Regions from separate parts of the Homo sapiens genome. Here all the other regions are linked to region 4. Evidence: promoter capture Hi-C in 16 types of primary human blood cells and fetal thymus (Javierre and others, 2016). All regions are on one chromosome and are shown on one strand. The core of a region is centred on a gene start or on the middle of the fragment in contact, and the rest is flanking DNA. Distances in the headings are between cores, read along the strand shown. Region 1 has its middle 19 kb from the start of DNAJB9. Region 2 overlaps PNPLA8 (patatin like domain 8, phospholipase A2). Region 3 overlaps LOC124901722 (a long non-coding RNA gene). Region 4 holds the start of SAMTOR (S-adenosylmethionine sensor upstream of mTORC1). Region 5 overlaps CAPZA2 (capping actin protein of muscle Z-line subunit alpha 2).

Evidence for each region. Contacts are between HindIII fragments. The CHiCAGO score rates a contact against its expected background, and 5 or more counts as called.
Region 1: a contact is called between a fragment that was not itself captured here and the fragment with the promoter of SAMTOR in region 4, in 1 of 17 cell types (total CD4 T cells). The highest score is 8.4, in total CD4 T cells.
Region 2: a contact is called between a fragment that was not itself captured here and the fragment with the promoter of SAMTOR in region 4, in 6 of 17 cell types (total CD4 T cells, naive CD8 T cells, non-activated CD4 T cells and 3 more). The highest score is 17.9, in total CD4 T cells.
Region 3: a contact is called between a fragment that was not itself captured here and the fragment with the promoter of SAMTOR in region 4, in 7 of 17 cell types (total CD4 T cells, non-activated CD4 T cells, naive CD4 T cells and 4 more). The highest score is 24.5, in total CD4 T cells.
Region 5: a contact is called between a fragment that was not itself captured here and the fragment with the promoter of SAMTOR in region 4, in 1 of 17 cell types (activated CD4 T cells). The highest score is 5.9, in activated CD4 T cells.

What each region holds. Positions count from the first base shown.
Region 1 is chr7:108,587,343-108,590,042 of GRCh38, forward strand. No RefSeq gene overlaps it. Among named protein-coding and RNA genes, the nearest start is that of DNAJB9, 19 kb to the left of the region's middle. The HindIII fragment of the contact is 6,518 bases long and covers 1-2,700 here.
Region 2 is chr7:108,512,151-108,514,850 of GRCh38, forward strand. It overlaps PNPLA8 (patatin like domain 8, phospholipase A2), which reads right to left. Exons shown (of 11, transcript NM_001256007.3): 3 at 2,286-2,700; 4 at 1,994-2,143. Among named protein-coding and RNA genes, the nearest start is that of PNPLA8, 13 kb to the right of the region's middle. The HindIII fragment of the contact is 2,356 bases long and covers 86-2,441 here.
Region 3 is chr7:108,529,084-108,531,783 of GRCh38, forward strand. It overlaps LOC124901722 (a long non-coding RNA gene), which reads left to right. Exons shown (of 2, transcript XR_007060473.1): 2 at 368-699. Among named protein-coding and RNA genes, the nearest start is that of PNPLA8, 4.3 kb to the left of the region's middle. The HindIII fragment of the contact is 4,198 bases long and covers 1-2,700 here.
Region 4 is chr7:112,938,469-112,941,168 of GRCh38, forward strand. SAMTOR (S-adenosylmethionine sensor upstream of mTORC1) reads right to left here and starts at 1,407. Exons shown (of 5, transcript NM_152556.3): 1 at 1,123-1,407. The coding sequence starts at 1,282. RefSeq lists a silencer at 1,236-1,335 and enhancers at 1,365-1,881, 1,536-1,875. The HindIII fragment of the contact is 2,363 bases long and covers 159-2,521 here.
Region 5 is chr7:116,864,157-116,866,856 of GRCh38, forward strand. The region is part of intron 1 of CAPZA2 (capping actin protein of muscle Z-line subunit alpha 2); the gene reads left to right. Among named protein-coding and RNA genes, the nearest start is that of CAPZA2, 2.9 kb to the left of the region's middle. The HindIII fragment of the contact is 873 bases long and covers 922-1,794 here.

The DNA.
Region 1 (2,700 bases), core at 123-2,622, 4.4 Mb before region 4:
ACAGAACTAATAGGGTATATATTATAAATAAGGGGATTATTAAGGAGAATTGACTCACATGATCACAAGGTGAAGTCCCATGATAGTCTGTCTGCAAGGTGAGGAGCAAGGAAGCCAGTGGTGGATCAATCTGTGGCCAAAGGCTCGAGAACCCCTGGCAAACCACTGGTATAAGTCCAAGACTCTTAAAGCTCAAGAACTTGGAGTCTTATGTTCCAGGGCAGGAAGCATCCAGCACAGGAGAAAGATGAAGGCCAGAAGACTCAGCAAGTCTACTCTTCTGTCTTCTCCTGCCTGCTTTATTCTAGCTGCACTGGCAGCTGATTAGATGGTGCCCACCCAGATTGAGGATGGGTCTGCCTCTCCCAGTCCACTGACTCAAATGTTAATCTCCTTTGGCAACACCCTCACAGAACATCCAGGAACAATACTTTGCATCCTTTAATCCAGTCAAGTTGACACTCAATATTAACCATCACACCCTTCTTCATTCTGTACTAGCCAGACAGGAATCCTCACTCTTCCAGGAACACGCCAGGCTTGCTTTCTCTTTAGGGCCTTTGCACTAGCTGGTTCCTCTGTTTGGAGCATTCTTGATTATACAGCCAATCCCTTCAGCTTCTTCCAGTCTTGGCTCACCTGTCACCTCTTCAATGGGGCCTTTCTGGCCACCCTATTTAATACCACACTGTGTCCCTCCTCCCTCACACTCTCCATCCCTTTATCTTACTCTGTTTTTATTTTCACACAGCACTTATCACCTTATTTCATTACTTATTATGTTATTATCTGTTTCCTCCTGATAGAATATAAGCTACTTGGAGGTAGGGATCTTCCACTGCTGTGTCTCAAGTGCCTATATCTGTGACTGGTATAGGGTAAATTTTCCATAACTATTTAGTGAATAAGTAAATTCGACGTCATATGTGTATATCTCATAATTTGATTTTCTGAAAAGTTACAAAATCCTTTACTTATATGATAAACTAGACTCATCTGCATTGGGACATCTTCCTTATACCAAATAAATGATATCTGTTAATAAAGATATTGGGATACAGGTTTAGTCATCCACAAATTTTTTTTAAATTTTTTTTTAAATTTTTTTTTTTTTTTTTTTTTGAGATGGAGTCTCGCACTATAGCCCAGGCTGGAATGCAATGATGTGATCTTGGCTCACTGCAACCTCCACCTCCTGGGTTCAAGTGATTCTCCCGCCTCAGCCTCCTGAGTAGCTGGGATTACAGGTGTGCACCACCACACCTGGGTAATTTTTGTGTTTTTAGTAGAGACAGGGTTTCACCATGTTGGCCAGGCTGGTCTCGAACTCCTGGCCTCAGGTGATCCACCCGCCTTGGCCTCCCAAAGTGCTGGGATTACAGGCGTGAGCCACCGTGCCCACCTCACAATATGTTTTTTTAATCCCAAATGATAACATCTCTTTTTCTATAACTTTTCTATCATTATTTTTCTTCCAGATATTTTAGTGTGAGAAAATAATTTTCTGTTCAAATGCCATTGTCCAAACTGTCAGAGATACTATCTTATAAGGAATTATTATTGGAAGGAAACAAAATCAGTTTATATATCAATACTGGTGGATCTTGAGATACTTAGAAAACTAGGTCACATCCCCTCAGTTATGAGATCAGAGGGGAACTTAAAAGAAAGAAGACTTTTACCTTGTTAGAAAGTTAAAATCAAGTGTGAACTCTTTTTATGTAGACATCTTCTGTGTGAGTTTATTTTTTAAGGACTTTTATTTATCTTTTTTTTTTTTTTAAGAGACAGGGTCAGCCAGGCAGTGGCATGATCACGATCATAGCTCACTGCAATCTTGAACTCCTGGGTTCAAGCCATCCTCCAGCCTCAGCCTGGACTGCAAGGCATATGCCACCACACTTGGCTAATTTTTTAATTTTTATGTTCTTTTTTTTTTTTTTTTTGTAGAGACAGAGTCTCACTATGTTGCCCAGGCTGGTCTTGAATTCCTGGCCTCAAGTAACCCTTGCATCTCCACCTCCCAGAGTGCTGGGATTACAGGCATGAGCCATCATGCCCAGCTGAGGACCTTTAAAAGAGCAACTCCTCCCTGTCTCAATTCCTCTGAGCTGCTTGTATTGGCACAGTGACATGCAATTGAAATTTCATTTTCAAGCCATAATAAATGGTATACTGAAAATTTCCCCTATTTGTTAGTTACAAACAAAACAATTCTGTCTTTTCCTCCACTTCTAGAATATTTTCAAATTGGTCATATAGGAGGTCAAAAGAAATCTCTATGAATTCATGTTTGACAATCTATAAAGTATGTTTCAGCTGGGACTGCTAACAGAAAAGACTGATGTGAACCTGATATCACCAATGGCTACTTTATGGGACCTGAAAAGAGCTTCATAGAGGATTTCAGAGCCATTTAGCCCTAGGTCCAGCTGTGCCTGAAACCATCTTTCCTTGAACACTTCAGTTATATGAGACAAAAAAGTCTCCTTTTCACTTAAGCCAATTTGAATTGAATTCTAGCACTTGCCACTCACATGGACATTTTATCAAGTGTCAAGGGCAACAAGGAGTTACACTGAGTTCCCCCAGAGAAGGAAGGAGAAAGATAGAAGCACAAGGGAAGCTAATGTTTAGATCACAAGATAGAAACTGCTGCCCAGGAGGAGAGAAAAAACCCCTGAGGTTGGAAGAACGCAG
Region 2 (2,700 bases), core at 14-2,513, 4.4 Mb before region 4:
ACAGTTAACTTTGCATGAGCCAGAAATAAAACTGTTTTGTTAAGTCACTGAGATTTCGGTGTTGTTTGCTATTAGAGCTTAAGGAAGCTTAATCCAATGAACACAAATAAACTCTAATACATTACAGTGGTAATCTGAGGGTAAAATATATTATTTTTATTTTCTTATCTTTTCTTTCTTCTAATTCCCTACAATGCTTTGTGCTGCCTTCTTTCTAAACAGTCAAAGTTCTTCTTTTTAATTAAAAAACATAATGAAAGGAGACCACCTTCATCACAGTGAAAAAATTATCACAGACAATTCCCTAAATGTGGCTGCCATAAATGTAGCATACAAAATAAGTAACTCATTTTTTTTTAGGGCATTACGTATCAGACATAATTCCCTGTATTTAGCTACCTTAAATATGGTAGACACATAAAAAAGTAAAATTGATACAGATGTTTTATAAAAATTCTATCATTTTTAAAAAGCTCAACTCTTGATAATAACAAAAAGTTTAGCTGGAAAAGTTCACACTAGAGTGTACATGCTGACACGTTATATGCAATTTGTCCAGTTCACTGTTTTTCAGATGATTATTTAAGGGAAGGGTGACAACTTTTTTCAGACTACCTAGATTTTTATTCATAATTGATCTGAATATATATTCCTATATTACATTTTTTCATAGTATTGAAAGGTCCTTAGATTTGGGATTAGTTATGCAAGATAAAAGAGTCCTCAGAGTTTCAATTAGCAAGACTATTTAAACTGCAACTGAAAACTACTCAGAAATCCATCAGTAGTACAACTGGCCTTGTAAAAGAGGTTGAAGTGAGCCACCTTGCCCCTTCTGCCATCTAAGTAGGTCATGAGAAGCTGCTGTCTAGGAGGAACGGGACTCTCACCAGACATCAAATTGTTGGTGCCTTGATTTTGGACTGCCCAGCCTCCAGAACTATGAGAAATAAATTTCTGTTGTTTATAAATTACCCAAGCTAAGGTATTTTATTATGACAGCCCAAATGGACTAAGCCAGTATGTAATTCTATTTAAGATCTTTGCTTTCAGTATATCACTGAAATGTGAAATATACTTAAAAGCATATGTATATTTGAGAATCTTATCTTTTATGTAAGATTATATAAATATAAAATATAATCCCAAATTATAGGACCATAAAATAGTGAAGCTACCTATAATAATGTATGTGTTATACAATACACAAGTAAGGATGGGTACATTATTCAAAGACAATTTTTCAACAAGGTAATTGTTAAAAAGTAGAATAAATGTGTTCTAAGTTAAAACAATTTTCTGAATGCCAAGCTAAAAATAAGCACTAATAGATTTCTAATGAAATGTAAGCAGTATCTATCATTATGATATTTTCAAATTTTTCATTAAATATTACAAATAATCTTAATAATATAGATGTAAAGAGACTCAATCACATTAGTCATATTTTATAGCACTTCTCTGAAAACAGTCCATTTAAGTGGGTCTAAATTATCTTCATTATTTTATAGTTGAAAAAACTGAGGCAAAGAAAAGCTCATTGTTTTACTTAATATGATTACTAATTCAATTATGAGTAAGGTCATTCAAATTTTTAGACTTTCAAATACGAAAGGACCATGAAATAAAAACAACAGCCTCACATATGAATTATGTCTCCTATCTTAAAAGAACAGTTACATAGTATAAATATTTACATTGCACTAAAGAAAAATCTGGCAGCTGTTAGGCAATTCAACTAATAAACTGATTATTTTCTATTTTATAAATGTTTAATTTCAAAGTATACATATTGGTGCTAACAAAATAAAATGAATTGATTAGCATAATGTATGTCACAAAATAAATAGGGTAATTACTGAATACACATCACATGTATAATAAAAACCACAAAATTCAAATGGAAAAATGAAAGGCTTTGCCTTCTCCATTTTAGATTTTTTTTAGTACTTCTATTCCAAGACAAAACTAGATTAAATAAATTAGAAATTACCTTGACAGCCACTCCTTTTCCTTCAGGAAATTCTAGAAGATGAAAAGTCAGTTCTTCAACCCTAGTAATGCAGAGCTTTGGGTCAGTTGTTCTTCTTAATGCCTGAACTAATGCCCGGGTCCTGTTATCAATACTCACCCTTGCGATAATCTACAAAGACATATTAAATAGATATGATTAGAATACAAAACTGCTCTAAAGAACAATGAAAGTTTCTTAGTTCTCATTAGGAAATAAAACTTATAAATTTGACAAAAAGTAATAGAACCGAAAAGCACACTGAACAACTTGCCTTTTCTCGCTGAAGAGATAAACGCTTTTTCTCCTCTGCATTTCTGTCTTTGCTGACAGCCTGATCAGTTTTAGCAGGCTCTTCCTGTTCTTCTGACTGACTCTTTGAATCATACTTTAATTTGGGGACAAGTCCACCAATATAACCACCTACTAAAGCTTGTACACCTTCCGTGGGACGAGAAAGAAAGTTAGCAATACTTTGTTTAGTTGAAACTTGAAGAACATCAGGTATCGCAGAAGGACTTGTAGGCTTGTCCACCGTATGTACAGATTCTGAGCCTGGCTTATAAGCCAGGATGCCAGGATCTGGAGATCTTAATTTCCCCTCTTCTACCTTTTTATCTTCAAGTTCTGATTTGTCCCGGAAATGTTCATTTTCCTTTTGTTGAGACATTTTTTCCTTACGTTTGAAA
Region 3 (2,700 bases), core at 53-2,552, 4.4 Mb before region 4:
TCACTCCTTTCTGGTCTGGTTCATAGCTTTTTAAAAGAGCTGCTAATATCTTTATTGTTCAAATAAAACTTAACATTATAACCAAAATAAATTAAGCCATATTGGTGCAAGATATCTCTCCAGATCACCTAAGGGAGGGATATGCCAGAAAATAATTCTAGAAGAATAATCACCATGGTAGGCTGAAGAATGGCCTTCTAAAAAATGCCCATGCCCAAATCCTTAGAACCTGTGAATATGCTACTTTACATGGCAAAGGGGACTTTTTGCAGATGTAATTAAGGGTACAGATTTTAAGAAAGGAAAATAATCCTGGATTATCTCTGTGGGCCCAATCTAATCACATAAATCCTTAAAATCAGTACAGATGTGGCAAAGCGAAAGTCAGAGAGATCAAGATAATGAGAGGAACAATTTGACAAGGAATGCAGGTTGCCATAGGGAACCAAGAGCGGCTCCTGACTGACAGCCAGCAAGGAAATGGAGACCTCAGCCACACAGCCGCAAGGAGTTGAATTCTGTCAACAACCTAAATAAAACTGAAAGCACACTCTTCCCCAGAGGTACCAGACAAAAGCTCAGGTAAGCTGACACCTTGATTTCACCCTTATGAGACCTGGAACAGAGGAACCAGTCAACTCTTGCTGGACTTCTGACCTACAGAACTGTGACATAATAAACTTGAGTTGTTTTAAGCCACTAAATTTGAAGTGTTTTGTTTCAGCAGCAATAGGAAATTAATATAATTATCTTTATATAGTTTGAAAACATGAAAGCAAGGATTTTCTGTTTTGATCCTTAGCACCAAGGCACAGCAATTATTAATAAAGTGTGGCCCGGAGCGTTGGCTCATGCCTGTAATCCCAGCACTGTGGGAGGCAGAGGCGGGTGGATCACCTGAGGTCAGGCGTTGGAGACCAGTCTGGCCAACATGGTGAAACCCCATCTCTGCTAAAAATACAAAAATTAGCTGGGCGTGGTGGCGGGCACCTATAATCCCAGCTACTCAGGAGGCTGAGGCAGGAGAATGGTTTGAACCCGGGAGGAGGAGGTTGCAGTGAGCCGAGATCGCGCCAATGCACTCCAGCCTGGGTAACAGGGTGAGGCTCCGTTTGAAAAAGAAAAAAAAAAAAGTTAATTGTTCAGTAACTATTTGGTGAGTGCATATTGAAAGAATTGAATTTATTCATTCAGCCATTATCTACTGAGTGCTTACTATGTGCCTGGCACCAAGCTATTTGCTGGAGGTAAAAAATTGAAGCACTGTCACGGAACTCAAAATATAACCTTAGGTAATAATACTATTAATGTAGAAAGAGCACTAATGGAGACATGAACTGGATATTATGAGTCTAGAGCAGGAATACCTACCCCAGCCTGTGGTGTTGGGAAGGAACTTCTGAACCAAGTCTTAAAAGATGTTGCTAGCAAGACAGATGGCAGTAGTGGAGTGGTAAAAGTGGGAAGAGAAAGGAGAGAGCTTTACAGAGAGAAGTGATGTTTGTAATAAAAGGCAATAAGGCAGGAAAAAACATAGTGCATGAAGGGAACTATGTGTTCCATGTTTGTACTGGAAATGTAATATAAGGATTGGGTGAGAGCTGAAGAACTTGGACCTGATCTTCTGGGTGATCAGAACCACTGTCAGATTCTAAGACAAAAGAATAACATGGTGGAATTTAAGTTTTAAGTACATTTTTTTGGTACCATGAGAGGGCAAGATTTGAAGAAGATGAGGAGTCCTGTTGTTGTCATATTTACTGTTTTCCTATTTAACCTTTTAATAAAAAAATCATTCTTTCTCCACCTTAAAAACTGCCTTAAAGAATTTGCCTATTTATACCTGCAGTTCAGGCCTCTCTATCAGGCTTGAGACCAGTTTATCCAGCTTCCTGCTGGGACATCTTAGAGGAACTAAACCAGTGGGAAATAAACCAGTTATATATAAGGTGATTTTCTGGGTGAAGAAAGAATAGTTTTATTAATAGACAGGTTATAGCTAAGGTTTTGGCACAAGAGTAGCAACATAAAATTAAGATATTAAGGACACATAATTGTATTTTCTCCAACTTACTTTTGAATCTGAGTTAGATTTTACCTTTTACCTAATACTTTTGTAGGTTATTCCATGCCTTGCTTATTTCTATGACAACTCATCCAGTTGAAAAGTTGGAATAAGTCTAAAAATGCCCCCATATTCAATTGCATGTTAATTTCTTTTCTTTCTTTCTTTTACTTTTTTTTTTTTTTTGAGTCAGAGTCTCACTCTGCCGCCCAGGCTGGAGTGCAGTGGCGCGATCTCGGCTCACTGCAACCTCCACCTCCCAGGTTCAAGCAATTCTCCTGCCTCAGCCTCCCAAGTAGCTGGGATTACAGGTGCTTGCCACCACGCCCAGCTAATTTTTGTATTTTTAGTAGAGACGGGGTTTCACCATGTTGGCCAGGCTGGTCTTGAACTCCTGACCTCAGGTGATCTGCCCGCCTCTGCCTCCCAAAGTGCTAGGATTACAGGTGTGGGCTACCACACCCGGCCTCTTTTACTTTTTTATTTGAGATGGAGTTTCGCTCTGTTGCCCAGGCTGAAGTGCTGTGGTGTGATCTTGGCTCACTGCAACCTCTGCCTCCCAGGTTCAAGTGATTCTCCTGCCTCAGCCTCCCAAGTAGCTGGGGTTACAGGCATGTGCCACCACTCCCGACTAA
Region 4 (2,700 bases), core at 157-2,656:
GTGTGTATAAATCAACAGTAACATGATCTTACCTGTCTGTATTCCTTCACTGCCATAATTTTCCTTCTAATCCTAAATTATTAACTAAGTATAGGACTAACACCAGAAGGCTGCTGACTTTTCAGTTTGCAATTAAGCTAAAATGAGAACCAGTGGAAAGCTTTCCTCATTTCGATACTCAGGAGAAGTCTCTCTCCCAAGCCTATGAAAACAGAATTTTCACTGTCAAAATCTTATAAAACAGCTGTGTACAAAAGCCTATATTTAAAGATATCAAGGATAACTGTAGACTCCAACTATAAACACTCTTCAGGCACAGGCAAAAGCCACTAAGGCTTCTTCCCCTATGAGCTTCCACAGAGGGGGTTCTCACCGGAACCCCATCCATGGAAGCCGAGGGTGGGCTTTATCGGCAGGTGTCTTTAGGAGGCTTCCAATACAAACGGTATTTTCAGAACCTGCCCAGATCTCTTCCTCATCGCCTAAATAAACAGTTAAGACCAAGTATTTAAGAAATGGGAGTGGGGGCCACGAGTGTAGCCCGCCCCCTTTTAACAATGTGAAGTCCAGTCAGCTAAAAGGCCTGCTGGCTTCCCAGCCCTGGAAGCCAATGCGAGGAAGGCTCGGCATGGTTGTAGGAATGAAGTACTAGGAAGGGGGTCTGATAAGGAAGCAAATGGTACAGCCGGTAGGTCAAGCGTAAAGGAGGGACAACTCAGGTTTCTTTTCGTCTTTTACAAATGGATTTTACCTGTCTTGTTTTACCTCGGCGTCTCTTGCAAAAAGCGACCCCCACCTCCTCTGTGAGCGTGTATGTGTTTGTGTGTGCCGAGACAACAACCTCAGCACCCCGGCTGGGGACAGGGGCTTGGAGGGGGTGGGGACTCAATTCCTTTACAGGCCTAGAACTCTCCCGAAGGGCCCTCAAAGAAAAGGGGGCGGGGAGGAGCGCGTCTGATGCCGACTAGGGGGCTCAGACCAGGCCCGGGAGAGCAGCAGCGGCTGGGGGGACGTGCAGATCCTTTACATTTTAATGGTGGCCTCTTTGGAGGAGGGAAGAGGTGACAAGCGGTTGGGGGTGATGAGGCCTCCCCTTCCTCCCTCACTCAGCGCGCTGTTTACCTTCTCGGTACTTCTTGCGGAGCCGCCGGTGGACGCTCTTCACCACACCGGAGAGCTTCTCCTGCTCCAGTTTCCGCTCCTGCTCCCGGGGCGGCGGAGTGTTCGGGGACCCGGCCCTCTGCGCACGAGCAGTATTTCGGCCGCCGGCCCCTGGCTCCATATCGCAGCCGCCGCCGCCGCCGCCGCCCCTCAGGCCCCCGCAGACGCTCCCCAGATGGAGGAGGTGGGGTAGGAGGAGGGAGCTGCGGAGGCAGCAGCCAGAGGAGGCAGAGGAACCGGAGCGACAGCCTTGGAGGTGGACCCTCACCCAAAAGTGCAAACTGATTGGTGGATTTTGAGGGCTGGGCGGAAACGGAAAAGGCTAAGGGCCAATGGGCAGAAAGCGCCGGCGGCGAACCCGGTTGTTTGGGAAGGCGAGCAGCTGGAGGAGGCGGAGCTTGCGGGGATAGGGAGGCTGAGGCAGTGGGAGCTCCAGGCCTGGGTGCTCATCTCTTCCCCACCCTCCCCGGATTCTGTGCGCAGGCGCTGTGGCTCGGCCTCGGGAGACGAGCTGTGAGCAACGCGCTTGCGCGTCTCAGTTTGCTTAGTTTGGGCTTTTTTACAGCTCGGCTTTCTGATGTCTTCCATCATTTTCATCCCCTACACTTTATAATCTGTTGCGATGCGGCCAGGGTGCTCTGCTTGAACCTCCGCTGCACCTTGTCACATGTAGGTTCCCTTTAGTTACTTGCGCTTTGAGATGACGTTACACTTCAGGGACCTCAAGCACACAAGCATTCTAAGGCTCAAGGAGAGGTCTGGCTACCAAATGCTAATTTAATTCTCAGGTCGACAATGGTTTATGCCTGCAGTACTACTGCTGGGCAAAGGACATAGAAAATGCGAAAAGGAGAGGGCCAAGAAAAGCAACAGGAGATGCAGGAGGACAATAAGGAACGATGGAAAACTCACAGCAGATGCCCTCAAGAACTTTTGTAGTGACCACGGTGTTAATAAGCAGCCTTCCCTGATCTTATTCGCATCAGCACTCTGAGCTTTTATGGTCAGCTCAGGTGACCTCCTGTCCTTTAATTTGGAGAGTTAGTCTATGCGGAGTGTATCTAAGTGGGTTTGGTAACCTGTTCACCCTCCTCCACTTCTTTTCCATCTCTTGGGGAACGCGATTGTTGACTTCTGTCCCAGAAAGGTGGAACACTGCTCTCTGGAGAGAGGTAGACTGCATTGGCTCCTGAAGTGGTACTGAGGCTGCTGGAGTGTCAGAGATTGAATAGACTGAGAGCCCCTAATGAGTTGTGTTGGATTGTGTACCACTTCCCCATTGCAGGTGTTGGTTACGTGACAGTCTATGGAAATGATTGCAATGGTAACATTTTGATAATGATTTTCTAACTACGAATAAAGCTTGCATTATGTAACTGTTTTATATGCTACCTTCTTTATATTGAATACGCTGAAGAGCAAAGAATTATACACACTGTCTAGGACACAGGAGAAGCGGGAGGTGAAGGGAGATTGATGGAATTTAAAGGCGGAAGATGTGTCCCTACAGCACAGTGAAGAGACAGATCAAACACAAAG
Region 5 (2,700 bases), core at 108-2,607, 3.9 Mb after region 4:
ATTGAGGCGTGCTAAAAAGCTTAAAAAGAGATTGTCGTGTTTTTATTCTACCATTCTTAAGTGATGATTAGTAGCTCAAGTGGCTAGAAATCTAGCTGAAGAGAGACTACTCGGTGTGGGAGTTAATATAGACCTGCCATGTGTTGTAAAGGCCTAAAATAAAAAAGTTTTTTAAAAATGAGATAACAAGATGCCTTATTATCTGGCACTCTCAGGGCACTAAGCTTCATAAAGAGGAATGAGGAGGTTGTGTGTCTTAAAGCCTGTGCCGCCTAGTAGCAAAATGTTTTATGGTTAAATGAATGAAAATTCTAATTTGATTTTTGATGTTTTGTAAGAATATTATGTAGATATTTTACATATAAATTTTATCACTATATTTACTAATTTAAAAACTGACAAAACCTTTAGGTTAAATTCAAGTAACCAGTAAAGTGAAATTTTAACGTTCTTGTCACTTGAGATATCTAAAGGTTATTTTCATTTTGGGGGAGGAGGATGTGTCCAGTATGGGATCAGAAAACAGAGAGGACTTAAAAGTGATATTTTAATATTACTCGTTCTACTGCCTTATTGGTAATTTTCAAAAATAAGCTCTTAAGCTGGGCACGGTGGTTTGCACCTGTAATGCCAACTACTCTGGATGCCAAGGTGTGGAGGATCGCTTGAGCCCAGGAGTTGTAGACCAGCCTGGTAACATAGCGAGACCTCATCTCTAAAAAAAAATATTAAGTTTTGAATACTTTTAAGTTTTTGAAATTTCCATTCTAGATTGCAAATTTAAGGAAGAGAAGCTGTTAAGATGTGTCTAGTACCATACTTTATATATGCTTGGCTCAGTTAGATACATTCATTACTTAATTTGTTGTTGTAAGAGGTAGTTCTATTACCATTTCACAGATGAGTAGAGTGAGGTTCAAAAGCTTTAAGTAGTTCACCCAAGGACGGTCAAGATGAAGGTAGTATTTAAAGTTTGTCTTAGTCCAACGTTGATGTTCTTGTGACATTATGCGCTCTCTTCTTTTTTTTTTTTTTTTTTTTTTTTTTGATACAGAGTCCCACTCTGTCACGCAGGCTGGAGTGCAGTGGTGCAATCTTGGCTCACTGCAACCTCTGCCTCCGGGGCTGAAGCGATTCTTCTGCCTCAGCCTCCCGAGTAGCTGGGATAACTGGCACATGCCACCATGCCCAGCTAATTTTTGTATTTTTAGTAGAGACGGGGTTTCGCTATGTTGCCCAGGCTGGTCTTGAACTCCTGACCTCAGGTGATCCACCCCCCTCGGCCTCCCAAAGTGCTGGGATTACAGGCGTGAGCCACCATGCCCAGCAGACATTATGCTTTCTTAAACAAAATTGATAAGAACCTCTTCTGGTTTTGTCTCTTCATTTTTAATTTGTTGACAGCTTATTTTGAAAAAGGAGAAACGTTGATTCTTCCTTAGACAGGGTCTCACTCTGTCCACCCAGGCTGGAGTGCAGTGGTGATCATGGCTCACTGCAGCCTCAACTTCCTGGGCTCAAGCAGTCCTCTCACCTCAGTCTCCCCAAGTAGCTGGGAGTACAGGCAGGTGTGCCAGGACACCCAGCAAATTTAAAAAAATTTTTTGTAGAGACAAGGTCTCACGATGTTGTCCAGGGTGGTCTCACACTCCTGGCTCAAACGATCCTCCCACTTGGGCATCCTAAAGTGCTGGGATTACGGGCATGAGCCATGATTCCTAGCCCTTTTTTAAAAAGTAATACCAAGCAAATAGTGTTAGGTTCTAAATTTTTGTCTTGATGATTTTAGAATAAAGCTTATTATTAACACATTTAAAGGTGTTATGTTACTGATAGGAAGCATTTTAGAAATCAATCTAGAATAATAGTTTTGTTTTTTAAAATCATACACAATTGCTTTTTGAGGATACTACTATGAAGTTTAATAACCTTTTCTCCTTTGGCCACTGGGTGAATGGGAAATAAATTTAGCTGAAGAACACAATGAAGTTCTTTAAAGCTCTTAACTTGCTATAGTGTGTCCCATAGACTTTTTTTTTTTTTTTTTGAGACGGAGTCTCGCTCTTTCACCCAGGCGGTATCTCGGCTCACTGCAAGCTCCGCCTCCTGGGTTCACGCCATTCTCCTGCCTCAGCCTCCCGAGTAGCTGGGACTACAGGCGCCTGCCACCGCGCCCGGCTAATTTTTTGTATTTTTAGTAGAGACGGGGTTTCACCGTGTTAGCCAGGATGGTCTCAATCTCCTGACCTCGTGATCCACCCGCCTCGGCCTCCCAAAGTGCTGGGATTACAGGCGTGAGCCACCGTGCCCGGCCTCCCATAGACTTTTTTACATAGTTACAGAAACCCTAGGCCAAAAACAGTTCATTTTCATTCCTGGGTCAGCTGTATTGTACAGTAAAGCATTTTTGTGAATTTGAAATTGTATGAAATTATGGTGTAAGGCTCAATTGAAAAGACCCATTCCGAAACCTCTCTCTGGATAAGAGATTCAAGTTCCAGAAGGAATACACTTAGTTACTGATGGGAAAGATCGTTTTTCTTCCTGTAACCCTTTACCTCAGTGATTACAATAATCTGTCCCATAGCTTCAACTTTTAGGTCTTTGCAGTTGTCTCCCAGGTACATAGCTGTAGCACTAACTTCTTTCCTGATTACTGGTCAGATTTTTATCTGCTATTCATGTTCACTGGAGATGGTT